2 separate regions of the Homo sapiens genome follow, and region 2 is linked to region 1. Evidence: promoter capture Hi-C in 16 types of primary human blood cells and fetal thymus (Javierre and others, 2016). All regions are on one chromosome and are shown on one strand. Each heading gives the region's core, a stretch centred on a gene start or on the middle of the fragment in contact. The rest is flanking DNA. Distances are from core to core; before and after follow the strand shown. Region 1 holds the start of ARID4A (AT-rich interaction domain 4A). Region 2 holds the start of TRMT5 (tRNA methyltransferase 5).

The links. Contacts are between HindIII fragments. The CHiCAGO score rates a contact against its expected background, and 5 or more counts as called.
Region 2: the fragment with the promoter of TRMT5 here is called in contact with the fragment with the promoter of ARID4A in region 1 in 1 of 17 cell types (total CD8 T cells); the score reaches 5.0 in total CD8 T cells.

Annotation. Positions count from the first base shown.
Region 1 is chr14:58,293,136-58,300,432 of GRCh38, forward strand. It overlaps ARID4A (AT-rich interaction domain 4A), which reads left to right and starts at 5,420. Exons shown (of 24, transcript NM_002892.4): 1 at 5,420-5,565; 2 at 6,663-6,725. The coding sequence starts at 6,720. It overlaps PSMA3-AS1 (PSMA3 antisense RNA 1), which reads right to left and starts at 5,002. Exons shown (of 4, transcript NR_029435.1): 1 at 4,820-5,002. RefSeq lists enhancers at 4,650-5,373, 4,670-5,089, 5,110-5,159, 5,270-5,359 and a silencer at 5,990-6,509. The HindIII fragment of the contact is 5,118 bases long and covers 538-5,655 here.
Region 2 is chr14:60,977,425-60,984,313 of GRCh38, forward strand. TRMT5 (tRNA methyltransferase 5) reads right to left here and starts at 3,655. Exons shown (of 5, transcript NM_020810.3): 1 at 3,539-3,655; 2 at 1,807-2,462; 3 at 90-214. The coding sequence starts at 3,549. SLC38A6 (solute carrier family 38 member 6) reads left to right here and starts at 3,821. Exons shown (of 16, transcript NM_153811.3): 1 at 3,821-3,958; 2 at 5,084-5,214. The coding sequence starts at 3,854. RefSeq lists a silencer at 347-641 and an enhancer at 3,545-3,924. The HindIII fragment of the contact is 5,504 bases long and covers 1,122-6,625 here.

The DNA.
Region 1 (7,297 bases), core at 4,170-6,669:
CACCTAAAGTGAAAAAAAAAAAAAAAGTGGAAAAAAAAAATCACTCCTAGGGTCCAAGAAAAATTCTCATATATTTTATGGTATGTGTAACTTAAAGACTGCGATTATTTTTTTTTTTTTTGAGACAGTTTTGCTCCTGTTGCCTAGGGTGAAGTGCAATTCCACGATCTCAGCTTACCGCAACCTCCATCTTCCAGGTTTAAGCGATTCTCCTGCCTCAGCCTCCCAATTAGCTGGAATTACAGGCATGCGCCACCACGCCCGGCTAATTCTGTATTTTTAGTAGAGACGGGGTTTCTCCATGTTGGTCAGGCTGGTCTTGAACTCTCGACCTCAGGTGATCCACCCGCCTCGGCCTCCCAAGGTGCTGAGATTACAGGCATGAGCCACCACGCCCAGCCGATTATTTCTACTTGAAGAAAGAGAGGTCCAGGATAAAATGTTCAGAAATGAAGCTAAAGACAGACCAGAAATTTTTTGGGGGGGGCGGGGCAGTAATAAAAAGGACAACAAATCTAAGTGCAGTTAAGAAAAAAAAGCTTTCTAATGGACTATACAAGCATCCCTAGCCTTAAATACATAATCTATTCATATATATATACATACACATATACACACACACACACACACCTATATATTTGAGATGAAGTCTGTCACCCAGGCTGGAGTTCAGTGGCACAATCATGGTTCACTGGAGCCTTGATCTCCTGGACTCAGGTGATCATCCCACCTCAGCCTCTTGATTAGCGGGGAACACAGGTGCACGCCACCACGCTGGCTGATTTCTTGCACTGTTTGTAGAGATGAGGTTTCACCATGTTGTCCCAAACTCCTGGGCTCAAGCCATCTGCTCACCTCGGTCTCCCAAAGTGCTGGGATTACAGGCTTCAGCCACCACACCAGGCCTTCAGCCTTATATTTCCACTTCTGGGAGTTTATTCCAAAAATAATCAGGGATGTGAAAGAAGATTTAGATGCCCAGAAATTTCAGCATCTAAAATTCATCATTTACGTTCATGCAAAAATAACTGCGGTTTCAGACCATGAATTTTATATCATTATAACTAGGCTCAAACACATCTTTATTAATCAAAATAGAAACCATTACAATCAACACATTTTTAAGTTGTTTATTCCTGTAGTGTAGAAATCCATGCTTTAGGATTCGACGAACTCTTGGAAAGCATTTTCTGCATCCTGCTAGTTGTGGAAGTGTTTTCCCTGCAAAAAGGTGTCGCAATGCTTGAAGAAGTCGTAGTCAATGGAGAGAGGTCAGGTGAATATGGCGGATGAGGCAAAATGTCACAGCCCAATTTGTTCAACTTTTGAAGCATTGGTTGTGCAACATGTGGAAGGGCATTGTGAAGAATTGGGCCTCTTTCTGTTGACCAATGCTGACTGCAAGCGTTGCAGTTTTTGGTGCATCTCATCGATTTGCTGACCATACTTCTCAGATGTAATGGTTTCGCCAGGATTCAGAATGCTATAGTGGATCAGACCAGCAGCAGACCACAAAACAGTGACCATGACCTTTTTTTGGTGCAAGTTTGGCTTTGGTAAGTGCTTTGGAGAATCTTCTCAGTCCATCTACTGAGCTGGCCATCACCAGTTGTTGTATAAAATCCACTTTTTCTCGCACATCACAATCTGACCAAGAAATGGTTTGTTGTTGCAAAAAATAAGGGATAAGGACACTTCAAAACAATGACTTTTTTTTTCGGTCAGTTCATGAGGCACCCACTTATCGAGCTTTTTCACTTTTTAATTTGCTTCAAATGCTGAAGGACTGTAGAATGGTCCACATTGAGTTCTTCGGCAACATCTCAAGTAGCCTTAAGAGGATCAGCTTTGCTGATTGCTCTTAACCGGTAGTTATCAACTTCTGGCGACCAGCCACTACGCTCCTGATTTTCAAGACTTTCCTTCCCTTTGCAAAATTTCTTGAAACTGCCAGGCACAGCGGCTCAAGCCTGTAATCCCAGCACTTTGGGAGGCCAAGGCGGGCGGATCACGAGGTCAGGAGTTCGAGACCAGCCTGGGCCAAGATGGTGAAACTCCATCTCTACTAAAAATACAAAAATTAGCTGAGCATGGTGGTGCGTGCCTGTAATCCCAGCTACTGGGGAGGCTGAGGCAGAATGGCTTGAACCCAGGAGGCAGAGGTTGCAGTGAGCCAAGATCATGCCACTGCACTCTAGCCTGAAAGAGCAAGATTCCATCTCAAACAACAACAACAAAAAAACTTCTTGAATCACCACTGCACTGTAAGTTAACAGTTCCTGAACCATATGCATTGCTGATATGGTGTCTCTGTTGTTTTACAACCCATTTTTAACTCAAAAACGAAAACTGCTCGAATTTGCTTTTTTGTCTAACATCATTTTCATTGTCTAAAATACACATGAAGGCTGGGCACGTGGCTCATGCCCGTAATCCCACCACTTTACGAGGCCGAGGCAGGCAGATCATGAGGTCAGGAGATCGAGACCACCATGGCTAACATGGTGAAGCCCCTTGGCTCTATTAAAAATACAAAAAATTAGCTGGTGTGGTGGCACGCGCCTGTAGTCCCAGCTACTCGGGAGGCTGAGGCAGAAGAATTGCTTGAACCTGGGAGGCAGAGGTTGTAGTGAGCCGAGATGGTGCCACTGACTTCAGCCTGGCGACAGAGCGTGACTCTGTCTCAAAAATAAAATAAAATAAACATGAAATAAACAGAGAGTAATAAGTCATTACCAAAAGAACAAAGCGAGAAATGCCCATTAAAATGATGTATAACATAACCACATTTATTTAACAACGTAGTCCAACATCAAATGGCAAATTCCAATAATGCAAAAACCACGATTACTTTTGCAACGACCTTCTTAGACACAATATTTTGCAAAACATGTACAAGGATATTCACTGACATATTACTGCCATTATAGAAAAATAAACACGTTACATAAATTATGATATATTTATCCCACAAAACACTATGAAGACATAAAAGATGCTTTACGATAAGATATTTCCAATATTCCCAATGTTTTCTATAAAGAATAGACGGTAATGAACAACACTAGAATATTTGGTAAAACAAAACCAACAAAAAAGACAAAGCCTTTTGTATAATATATAACTATAGTGTAAACCGTAACTACCTTTTGGAGGAGGGAAGACATTTTTGTATTCTTCTTTGGGCTTTTTAATAATTTCCAAATGTCCATGCATTATTTGGATTCAATAATAACAGTTTAAACTTTGATCGTAGAATTATGGATGCTTACCCCCTAGAAAATTCAGTAATATATTGTTTTATAAGGTCTTTTAAAAAACTGCTTCACTCCTACGAGATTGCGCCACTGCACTCCAGCCTCGATGACAGAGAGAGACTCTGTCTCCAAAAAAAAAAAAAAAAAAAAAAAAAAAGCCTCACTCCTAAACACTCCCATTTACAAGATCTTTTCTATATAAGAACTTTTTAAATAGGCGGGTGGGGGGGAGGAAATCACAAAAATACGCATAATGTTTTATAACAAAAACATGAGGTATATCAAAGTCCAGAAATGAGAACCACGTAAATGGGTAAACAAGTCCATAAGGATGTCCTAATTTTGGGATTTCATTCTAAAATATTACACTAGAAAGCTAATTATACAGACTCATTTGAATCTGACCAAACAAAACATCTTTTAACTACCCTTCCTCCCATTCTGGTATTTCTTTACTAATCCATAGAAAGTTTTTCCAGGTAGTCCCCCGCAATTCTAAGGATTTTTAGACTTTATGACTCACCTCAGTAATCACTGAGATGTTCTGTTTTCTTCAGCACAACTGCCAAAAAACCCAGTAATTGTTAAGTCACACAATCATTTTCTAGTTATGGGCGCCACCAATATAGCAGTAGGGTTTAAAACAGAGGTATTGAGGGTAACTATTAGGATCTATCCAGTGTGACTAGGTCACTCACTAGAAATGCCAACATGCATTTCACGTTTTTATGAATACTTTTGAGCAAAATTACTGTTACGAATAAAAAACTGATTCTGCTCGGCTGTTTTCTTACTGAGAAAATTTAGTCCACGTGGATTACTGACGATATGTCACATTTTAAAAATTACTCCATTCTATAAAACTAGTCAATTTTATACTCCAATTCCGCTATTTAAAAATGTGTGTTTCGTTTAACAGAATATAAGATGTTAACAGAAAAAGATCAACGTCTATCTTATCGGGGACGTCCTTTTGTCTAAGATGTTTTCAGTCCCTGCAAAACCACTGTTTGCTTTCAAAAAGTAGCATAAGCCTCGTGCAGAGTGACAGACCCTTGTCTAAGGTCACAGAAGAAGCGTCTGCGCTGGCAAGTAAATTCCTCAGCATCCAGAAAGCCAGCGCTTTCTCCAGTTTCCTCATAGCTTTATCCCGTGAGGAGCACGCGGAAACCTCTACCCATGCAGGATGTTTCTAAGAACCACTTCTTCCCTGTCTTAACTAAGAAGGCTCCCACAGCTGGTGCCAATCAGGTGGAGAACATGGCAAGTCCCCGAAATGCACTTCCAAAGACAGGAAAGATTGCAGTGGGACAGAACCCAGAAAATCTCTCACATTCTCGAAAACCCGAAAGAGAACCTCCAAGAAAGACGTTTGCCTCTCCTCCACCTCTTTATCTCGGCGGGAGAGGAAGCCTCGCCCCCATTCATCCCGCCCCTTCTCCCCACCCCGCCGCAGGGAGAAGTTTACCATGGCTGCCTGCGGCCCCTTCACTTCCGGTGCCGGTGCCGCTAGGGCTGCGCCATCCCCCCAGTCAATCGGACAACCATAGCCTCCAACTGACCTTTCTGACAGCTCTGAGACTCCTCCGGCCACGACTAGGTGCTGTCCTGGAGGAAACGGTGGAGGACGGCCGCACAAAAACCAATCTACCTGATGAAAACTCCGTTCCCTTCTCGCCAGAAACATAAAATGCGATGGAGCTACGGCCACCGCTGCCGAGACAAAATGGCGCCGACAAGCTGGTTTAGCGCAAGCGCCTTGGACAGACCCTGCCCCGCCCCCGTGCAAGCCCCTGGCTGCAATTCTGGGTTCCGTTTCCATGGGACACTCCGCCGCCAATCCTCGTGTCGAACTGCTCTTCCTGACCCCTCAATTCACCAATCAGTGCCCAGTCAAGCACATCCGGAGTCGTCTCTACCAATCATTTCTCAGGACTTGCTTACTCAATAACCAACTCTCCAATAAAGTTGGTTTTCGGAAAAAGCCAATCATAAGTGGAAGATGTCCTACCTGCTGTTTTTCTCACCAATCCATGAAGTTTCACAGCTACATCCAATGAGGACGGCAGGTAGCGAGGTCCTATCCGAAGCTCTTCGGCGTCATGAGCAGCCAATAGGAGTTCGTGTAGAAGCGAGTCTGCTCAACAGCTTGTTATTTGGTGGATTGTGGCAGTAAATCGGGGCGAGTGGGGAACCCGGCGCAGGAACTGCAGCCGCGGCTGGGAGTGGTGCTGCCCGGACGGGGGCCCACGGAGGTCAGAGGGGAGGAGGACTCTGGAGCTGACAGCGCGCACTTCACCCGCAGTTGGTAGGTGGGGAGAGGGGAATCCGGGGATACTGAATGGACGAAGTGGCAGTAGCAGCAGCTGCTGCTGCCCGAGGTCCCGGTGCAGTTGGAAGCTTTGGAGGTGGGGAGAGGGATGCTAGGCAAGTGGCACGGCGAGCGCAAGGGAAGGGGCCAGCCATTGACCAGCGGCAGCAACTGCAGGAACCGCCGCCGCAGTTGCAGCCGCCTCCTCGTCCGCTTCCTCGGGTTCCCGGGAAAATGGCTGTGGGGCTGGCCGCGCCGCTAAGTTTGCTTCCGCGCGGTGAAGAGCGGGCTGCTTGGGGGAGCCGTCCCCCAACTCCGCGGCGCGTCCACCTCTGCGGAGTCCGTGGCAGGACTCGAGGGGCTACGAGCTGATACCTCTCTGGGCTGTACAAAAAGTTGAGGCGGGCGCTGGGAGGAGGCAGCGGCTGCTGCGGTGCGGCTCCCCTCCCCTCCCACACCCTGTCCGGGCCACCTCCCCTCCTCCTCCCCTCCGCCCCCCGCCCCCTCCCCCACGCGGGTCCCCCGGGGCTCTGGCGGCTCCCGGCTGAAGGCCGCGGCCCCTGCCCCTTTGGGTGAAGGAGCGCTTCTCCTTTCTGACATGGTGCAGAGCGAAGGAAGGAGAGCAATGGCGCCGTGACACTCCGCTGCCGCCACCGCGGGCCCGGGGCGGGCCGAGGGGGCCGAGCGGCGGAGGCGGGGCGCGGGCCGAAGTCGGGGTATCCGGGGGACCGCGGAGCGGAGGCTCGGCGGTCGTCTCCGCGGGGGACCTGGGGAAGCCCGAAGGGAGCTCTGGCCTTTTCCGGAGCTATCTGTCCTGGAGCTCCGAGTTGAGCATTCCGGGTCAAAGTGGCCAGCGAGGCGGGGGCGCGGTGGGCCGCTGGCGAGCTCCGGGGCGGAACGGGCTGCCCTTTGGCGCTCGTGGGGTTCTCGCTGCCCCCTCAGCTCCTGCGTCCTGGCTGCCCTCGTAAGGGGTCTTGTCCCTTGGCTGGTGAGGATTCTGCCCCTCCCCGCTGGCGTTTGTTTACTTTCTTTCCCTTGGTCGCTCCCCGCAGTTGACTGATTATGTCTGTGCCTGTCTTTCCCCCTCCCCATAGTTCTAGCGACTGCGAAGATAGCTCGCTGAGCTGGAACCCCACAGATCACCAACAAAAATGAAGGTAAGTGGAGTCAACTCTGCCCCGATCCTCGCGCCCTGAACACTGCCAATCCTAAGGCTAGTGCCGTGGAATGTCATTTGTTTTGCTACTCAAAATTGATGTTCCTACTGATCAGCAGTTTCGGCATAGGAGGATGTGTTGAATGGGTGAAAAATGATCTGTGTGTCTAAATGCGGAGTTTAGGCCCTCTCTGTAGCAGTACTTTGGAAAGGCTGGTGCAGCCTTTCAATTGTTGTCCATTCGGATAGTATTTTTAAACACTTCCTGTGTTGGCAGCAACCTTTGCAGAAGTAAAGCTTTTGTCCTGCTTTGGTTCTTTGGGGGATTTTTTGTAAATTTTTTTTCTTCCCGTGTGCCAATGCGATTTTCTAAAAGAAAGAATACGTGGATTAAGTAATGAAGGTATCATTTCTTCTGTGTGTAAAATGAACTTATGTGGCTAAAATATTTGAAGTTGAAGTATAATAATAGTTTTAGTTAAATCTTTCCAATAAGTATTTTAAAACATATACTAAAAAGATACATATTCTACTGAGGATGACTGCAAATATCAGTATGTGGATGGTTAAAGG
Region 2 (6,889 bases), core at 2,405-4,904, 2.7 Mb after region 1:
GATGTTACAAGTATTTTAAATCTTTGTCATCTATTCTGACTCTAAACATAATATTGATATACACCTTACTTGGAGATAATAAAATATACCTTTGTCATCATGTTCTGCTCTCCAGATAGCACTTCCATTTGGAAATTTCGGTACATATTGTCAATATTATTTATTTTATTTACTGCTGAGGTGATTCCTGGATTTTTGTCAATCATAACCTGGCCTAAAAGAAAAAATGAAAATCCATAATACTGCCTATTGGTTGCAAAATAAAAGCTAACATTGTTAATATGAAACAGAAATGAGTTGTATTTCTTTTGGTTGATAAAGACTGCACCTACTGTGTGTAATGTGGCATGCAATTTAAAAAATTCAACAGATGACTAAAGTTAATGTCTGACGGTTGCTAATATGCACACACAAAATGTTGGGTACATTTTTAAAGAAAACGTTTTGAGGAGTTTGGGTCTACCTAATGTTTTTTCCATGTTTTACTAAATCTTTTCAAATGAACCAATAAACAAGGAACCAAAAAGGTAGATCACAAGGAATTGGGAAAGAATGGAAAGAGATGTAAAGGACCCTGGCAACAAATGGCCTCAGAAAACAGTAAAACATCTGCCGGTTCCACTGGCCTCAAGCCAAATGTCTGTTTTACTATGGCTTTGGAACAAATGCCCCCACTTTAGAAATATATGCCAGCAAAACAATGTTTCCAAAAAAAAAGAAACATAGATTATTTACAGTCCTATCTAAATTAAATGTTCATTTACTTCAGAGCAAAAAAAGCTACAGAACTGGCATACTCATGGCCATTTGATGAATCTATTTTTTTAGTTAGCACTTTAAAAAAGTTATAAAAATCTATATGCTATCTCATTGCATAACTTGATTTGTAAATCAGCACACAGTACCCAATTATACAATATCCTGAAATACAACCAGCATTTGTCCCATTTCTGATAATCAGATACTTGTTTTTTAATATAGTATCAATAAACGAATTAATCATTGTTCTTACCCTTTCTGCTTCATGTATCTGAACTCAACTTTTAAGGTACAGAATTTAGTTTGAAATGAGGAATGAAATTTATAAATTTTTAAAAACTATTCTGAAGGTCTATAGTAAAAGCTTTAAAATTACTACTGTATGAAAATGTTTCACTTTTAATGTATGAGTGCCTCTATGAAAGAAAGTTTATAAAATAGGAATGCCAGAGGAATGTTTGAGTTAGGGTAGGCAGTGACTCACAGGAAAGCCTAGACTTGACATTTGTACCCAGTCACAATTACAAGGATCTGCTTAAGTATTTATGTTACCACTATCCATTATTACTCCCTTCATCAATAAAAACAAAAGAAATGTGTAACAGGACAGTATGGTGCTTGACATATAGAAGAGGCTCAATTGGTTGAATCAATGAAAGCATAAGTAAACATCTTGCACTTTTGACTATAAAGTACCCAAATTTATGAAACCTAGTATTTAACATAGCCCTGAAGGCCTAACAAGTCTTGTGTACCAAAAAGATCTCTCCTCAATGTAGCTGCCAAAGCATGTGATTCAAGTTTAATCTACACTGATGTATTGTTGTACACAAAAGCCTGGACCAGTATTTGGAACTTGCTATGACTAAAGAAGATATTTCAAAATGGCCCTCAAAAGAGGGTATGTAGCTCAAGATCTAGCTTAAAGTTAACATGATAAAATGTTCTGCCTCTGTAACTTGGCATTAAAAAAAATAATTTTTAAAGCTAAAATTAACAATTTGCAAATTCCCTTCAAATACATGAATATTACTATGACACACGTACCAATTAAATGTTTGAAAGGCAGCTGATGATCTCGAAGGTTTAGGTGTGCAATATGTCCAATCCTGCTAAACCCTGAAGTTACATCTTGACCTTCAGGAAGCACAGCTCTCAAGATTTCTTCTGACTTAAAGTGTTCATATGTTAGTTCCAAATTGTATTTAGAGATCTGTGGACTGACATTAAGCTGCTCTAAAACACTGAGTTCTGCTTTCTCAAAGGAATCATGAGTAAATATTTTATAGGGATCCAACATGATTAGTCTACTTTCTTTATCTTCCGGATCTTCAATCACACGTCTTATGCCTGGGCGCTGCAATGCTGCCCTTTTTAGGGATCGCATCAATTTACTGACTATTTCTTTCCTCACTTTAAGCACTGGAATGTTGACTGTCTTTTTAAAAGCTGTTCTATCAAGTTTTGTCATGCCTCGGACATCAGAAGGTGGTGAAAACAATTCAGTCTCTCTCTCATGTGTTTCTGTTTCTGGCATGGTTGAGAATCTTTTTCTTTGACCCAATAAGAAAATACCAGGTGCTTCCAAAAGCATCTGTGTCAGGGATGTCCAAGCTACTGGAATCAACGATTTTGATTCAGTTATGCTATGGCTTTCCAGTTTCAGAAATCTTCCTGAGAATCCAAATGGCCTCCATAAGATCCTTAAAAAAAAAAAAAAAAAATTCACACACGACAGCTTTTGAGAATAAAAATCTAAATTCTACTATCTCAAATAACGGGCTAAATGCTGACAAATAAAACGTTTAGTGATGTGTGGGAAGTATACTATCTTTTCCAGACTAGGATGACTTCTTCAGGAAGTCGTATTAGTGGTAGATAATAGTGGTATATATTAAATTTACACCTTCAACCCATCTGCTCCCAGTTCAGAGGGCTTAGTGATCCATTAGCCATACTCAATGATCCTCTTCACCCACAATTTTCTAGATAATACATTTGGGATTGGAAGACTGAAGTATGAGTTAAATGGTCATCTGTAAATGAAATAGTCATTATACATGACCATTACTAGTGGTGATATTTATTAGGATAGTCTCATGGGTGCTTATTGTGTCAGATACTGCGCTAAATGCTTTATGTACATTATGAATCTTGGGAGGTGTGCAGTATTGCACCCTCATTTTGTAAATAAGTAAACTAAAGCTCAGACGTAAGGTAACCCACCCAAAGTCTCCCAGCTGATAAGTGGCTAAACATGGATTAAAACCTAGTTTTGACTGACTTCGGTGCTTGTGTTCTTAATATATTGCTCTGTTGTTTGTTTTCGATGCTTTACTGCCACATGTCCTGCCTTTAACTAGAGGCTTCTGTATTTTGAGGACGAGAGCTTTGCTGATTGTTATATGCATAGTATCAGTTATTCACTGTCTTCTAAAATACCAAAGAATTTACTTGTAAGGGGAAAGGGCCCTGTCCCAGAATCCTGTAAAGCAACGAAGTCTAACTTCACCGTCAGAGATCAAATTGGTTCTAGCAGCTGACCAGCTGGGTGACCCTGGATAAATTACTATAAGTCTCGGTTTTCCCACCAGTAAAATGTGGCGAAAGGCTTTTGAAACATTCCTTACTATCCAGAACCTCGAAACTAAGCTCAGCACCTAGGCGGGTGGGTGACCTCGCGATGTTTCTGTGCCCAGGCAGCACATGGCAGAGAGCAGCCCTGGGCGGGCTGGTACCTCCCCTGGACCATTAGCCCCTAACGCGGCCGCCACCTCACCAAAGCACCATTCCAATTCCCCACGTCGCTCTGCAGCTGGATCCGCGAGCCGACCCCTCACCTCCCGCTCCGGTACCGATCGGATGTGGGTCGCGGGTGGATGGGCGGGTCTTCTATGACATCATCACTGTTCGCCGCGAAGAGGGCGCGCGTCATCAGATCAAGTCGACTCGCTCCTCTCCTTCCAGGCCCTGGTGAAGTACGGAATGCCGGAAGGGCCGGGCTCAAAGCTCCGCCTCTGGCGCGACCGACGACTGGAGCGCAGGGCAGGGGTAGAGGCTCGTAGATGGAACTGGTAGTCAGCTGGAGAGCAGCATGGAGGCGTCCTGGGGGAGCTTCAACGCTGAGCGGGGCTGGTATGTCTCTGTCCAGCAGCCTGAAGAAGCGGAGGCCGAAGAGTTGAGTCCGTTGCTAAGCAACGTAAGTGGGCTGTGTTCGCTTCCCCGCGCTGACGCCCTCCGGCTTCCCTCAAGTGCCTGCCAAATAAGACCCAGAAAAGGAGGACCGCACCGGGACAGGGGAGATGCTGGAGCCTGAACCCTGGGGGATGGGGTCTGAAGGCAGCCGCCGAGATTCAGATGAGATTGGCGCAGTTATGAACGTGATAGCAGCCTAGCATACTCTAGAAAGAAAAGATGAAAAGCGTCGGGTGGAAGAGATGCAGCGTTGAGTGGAAGCTGCGAACATGATGGGATGAGCGGCCCTAGGATTATGTACTCACTGCTGTTAGTTAGTATTTTTGTCACCTTATTTTCTCCACCAGTCTCGTGAGGTCTTTGCAAGAGTCACAGGATTTTCCTCTTCCGACTTAGTCATGGGGGGAGGGAAAATAATAAACATTTTAATACAGAAATTCTTAGCGGTAGAATGGAAGTGGCTTGGTAGTAAGTGCATAGCACGTTCCTGACCCTAAAGCCTGTGCAGTGGGCACTCCGCTTTTTAACTCGAGTCCTAGACACTGTTCCCAGGACTTTGTTCCCGGTGCTGTTTGTGGGGAGGGGGATGTTTTCAGGGATACTGCCAGAACAACGTGAATTGCTTCTGTTTATAATATTGTCATTGCAAGATATTCCTGACCATCCTTCCAGTTTGGTAGAACTAATTCATTAGATATATAAGTAGAGATTAGTTGTGCAGTCCTAGTAATTGAGGAGAAACAACTGCCCACAGCAGTCCCAGGTTGACTCAGCAATTCTTTAGTAATCACATGAGCTGAGGCCTTATCCCTCCTCTCTCTCCCCACTCCATTCCCATCCTATCTTCATCTCTTGCAGTCACAAGGTTAGTCATGGCCCTTCCTGAACTCTGCCTGTCTTGTGTACTGGTGGAAATCATTTTCCTAAGAAACCCTAGATTCCTGGAGCTGCAGTAGTGGGAGGTGGGAAGGAAAGGAAAGGAAATTAGTGTTGGTTAAGCAACGAGTGTGTCATACAAACCCTGGTGGTTTGCAGCTTTTTTCCATAATCTTTCATTTATGGAATTTCTTTACGAAATTTTAACTTCACCGTCCAAACATTTAACACTACTAAATTTGTGTGCTTACAGGAACTTCACAGACAGCGATCCCCAGGTGTTTCATTTGGTTTATCAGTGTTTAATTTGATGAATGCCATCATGGGAAGTGGCATCCTTGGCTTAGCTTATGTTTTGGCTAATACCGGTGTCTTTGGATTTAGGTGAGTCTTCATATTTTAGCATCAAATTTTTTTTTCCATTTTGATAATATACGGAGAAGTAGAGAGATAGATTCCAGAAGCTGCTATTATACAATTTCTAGTTAGTTATTTCTGGGGTTTTAGCATTTTTCTTGTTATTCTTGTTGCTAGTGTGTACCTTGGAGGGCTACTACATAGCTTCTTAAATACACAGAAGTGTGACTAGTTTTTAAAAATGGGAACTTGATCCACATTTCATTTATAATGAAATATGACACTTAAGAGTGGCATATTCATTGTATCTCCTTGGCCAAAGTGAATCAAAGCCATGCAGATTAACTTCCAAATAGCAATTTTGTGAGTGCAAATACAACACATAATCTTTTCATTCCTCGCTGTCTCTTTGTATTGTTAAGTAGTCTTATTTCACTTTCAGAGGCCAGACATGTGTTTTGTGCCTGTTCTTTTTTATGTTTCAGGACTTAGCTTGTAGGCCAGTTTGCCCAAAATAGAAGACAATCCTGGATATTCTGTGCTTTCATAGTACTTTGTATATTCATTCTGTTATTATAATTGTTACAATGATATGTTTGGAAATTAATGTTCCCACTAAACTGAAATCCTTTACAACTGGAGGTCAAGGCAGGCGGATCACTGGAACCCACGAGTTTGAGACCAACCTGGGCAAGATGGTGAAACCCCATCTCTGCCCAAAATACAAAAATTAGCCTGGTATGGTGGAGTGCGCCTGTAGTCCTAGCTACTTGGGAGGACTGCTTGAGCCTGAGAGGTTGAGGCTGCAGTGAGCCATGATTGGGCTACTGCACTCTAGCCTGGGTGACAGAGTGAGATCCTGTCTAAAAAATTTAAAAAATAGAAAAATCCTTTATAACTGGACCTTATTCTTAGCATCTAGCACCACATGGCTAATAGAATGAATTAACAAATTGGCTTTGTCAGTAGAAGCAGATCTATTTACTAGGAAATTTAAAATGCCTAGGGAGTCTCTTTTATGTTTATTTCCTGCTTTTATTCCAAATTTTTTGATAAGCAAAGCAACTTTTAAGTAACCCAACTTGCTTTTATTATGGAATGTACTCACAAACTTTCATTATTTTTAAAATTAAAAACTATATGTGACACCTTAAGCAAGACATAGTCAGAGGACTTTTTTTTTGATTCTCTTTGAAAAATCATAATTTATGCACCAGGGTCTTACATGCAGATATATACTGCTGAATGTGTGCTCACCCAGTCATAGCAACCATCATTTTTGGTGATGCTAAAGTGTTATTTTGTGAAGTTCCTGATGTCAGTTTAATGACATTTGTACTTTTACCTCTCAATTTTATTTATTAACAAGTATTAACTGGACCACAGAGAGAAAATTTCTTCAATGACTGGGGCAGTTCACTGGGGATAGCTGTATAGAAGCTTGTCCTGCTGGTGTCTTCCTAAAAATGAATAGGAAATTATCTAAGTTTTTTCTTTCACACTGTTGGTGAGAGGACCTCAATCATTACATTGTTTGCACATTTTTCAAATTGCATCATTAGAGGTGTGTTAACTACATTATTTTAATTTAGTTTGGTTTGGAGAGTGTGTGCGTTTAATAGATGCTAGAAAATACAGCCTAAATAAATCTTAAGTACACCTTAATAAGATGAAGGTATGATAAGGAGGTCAATATCACTGG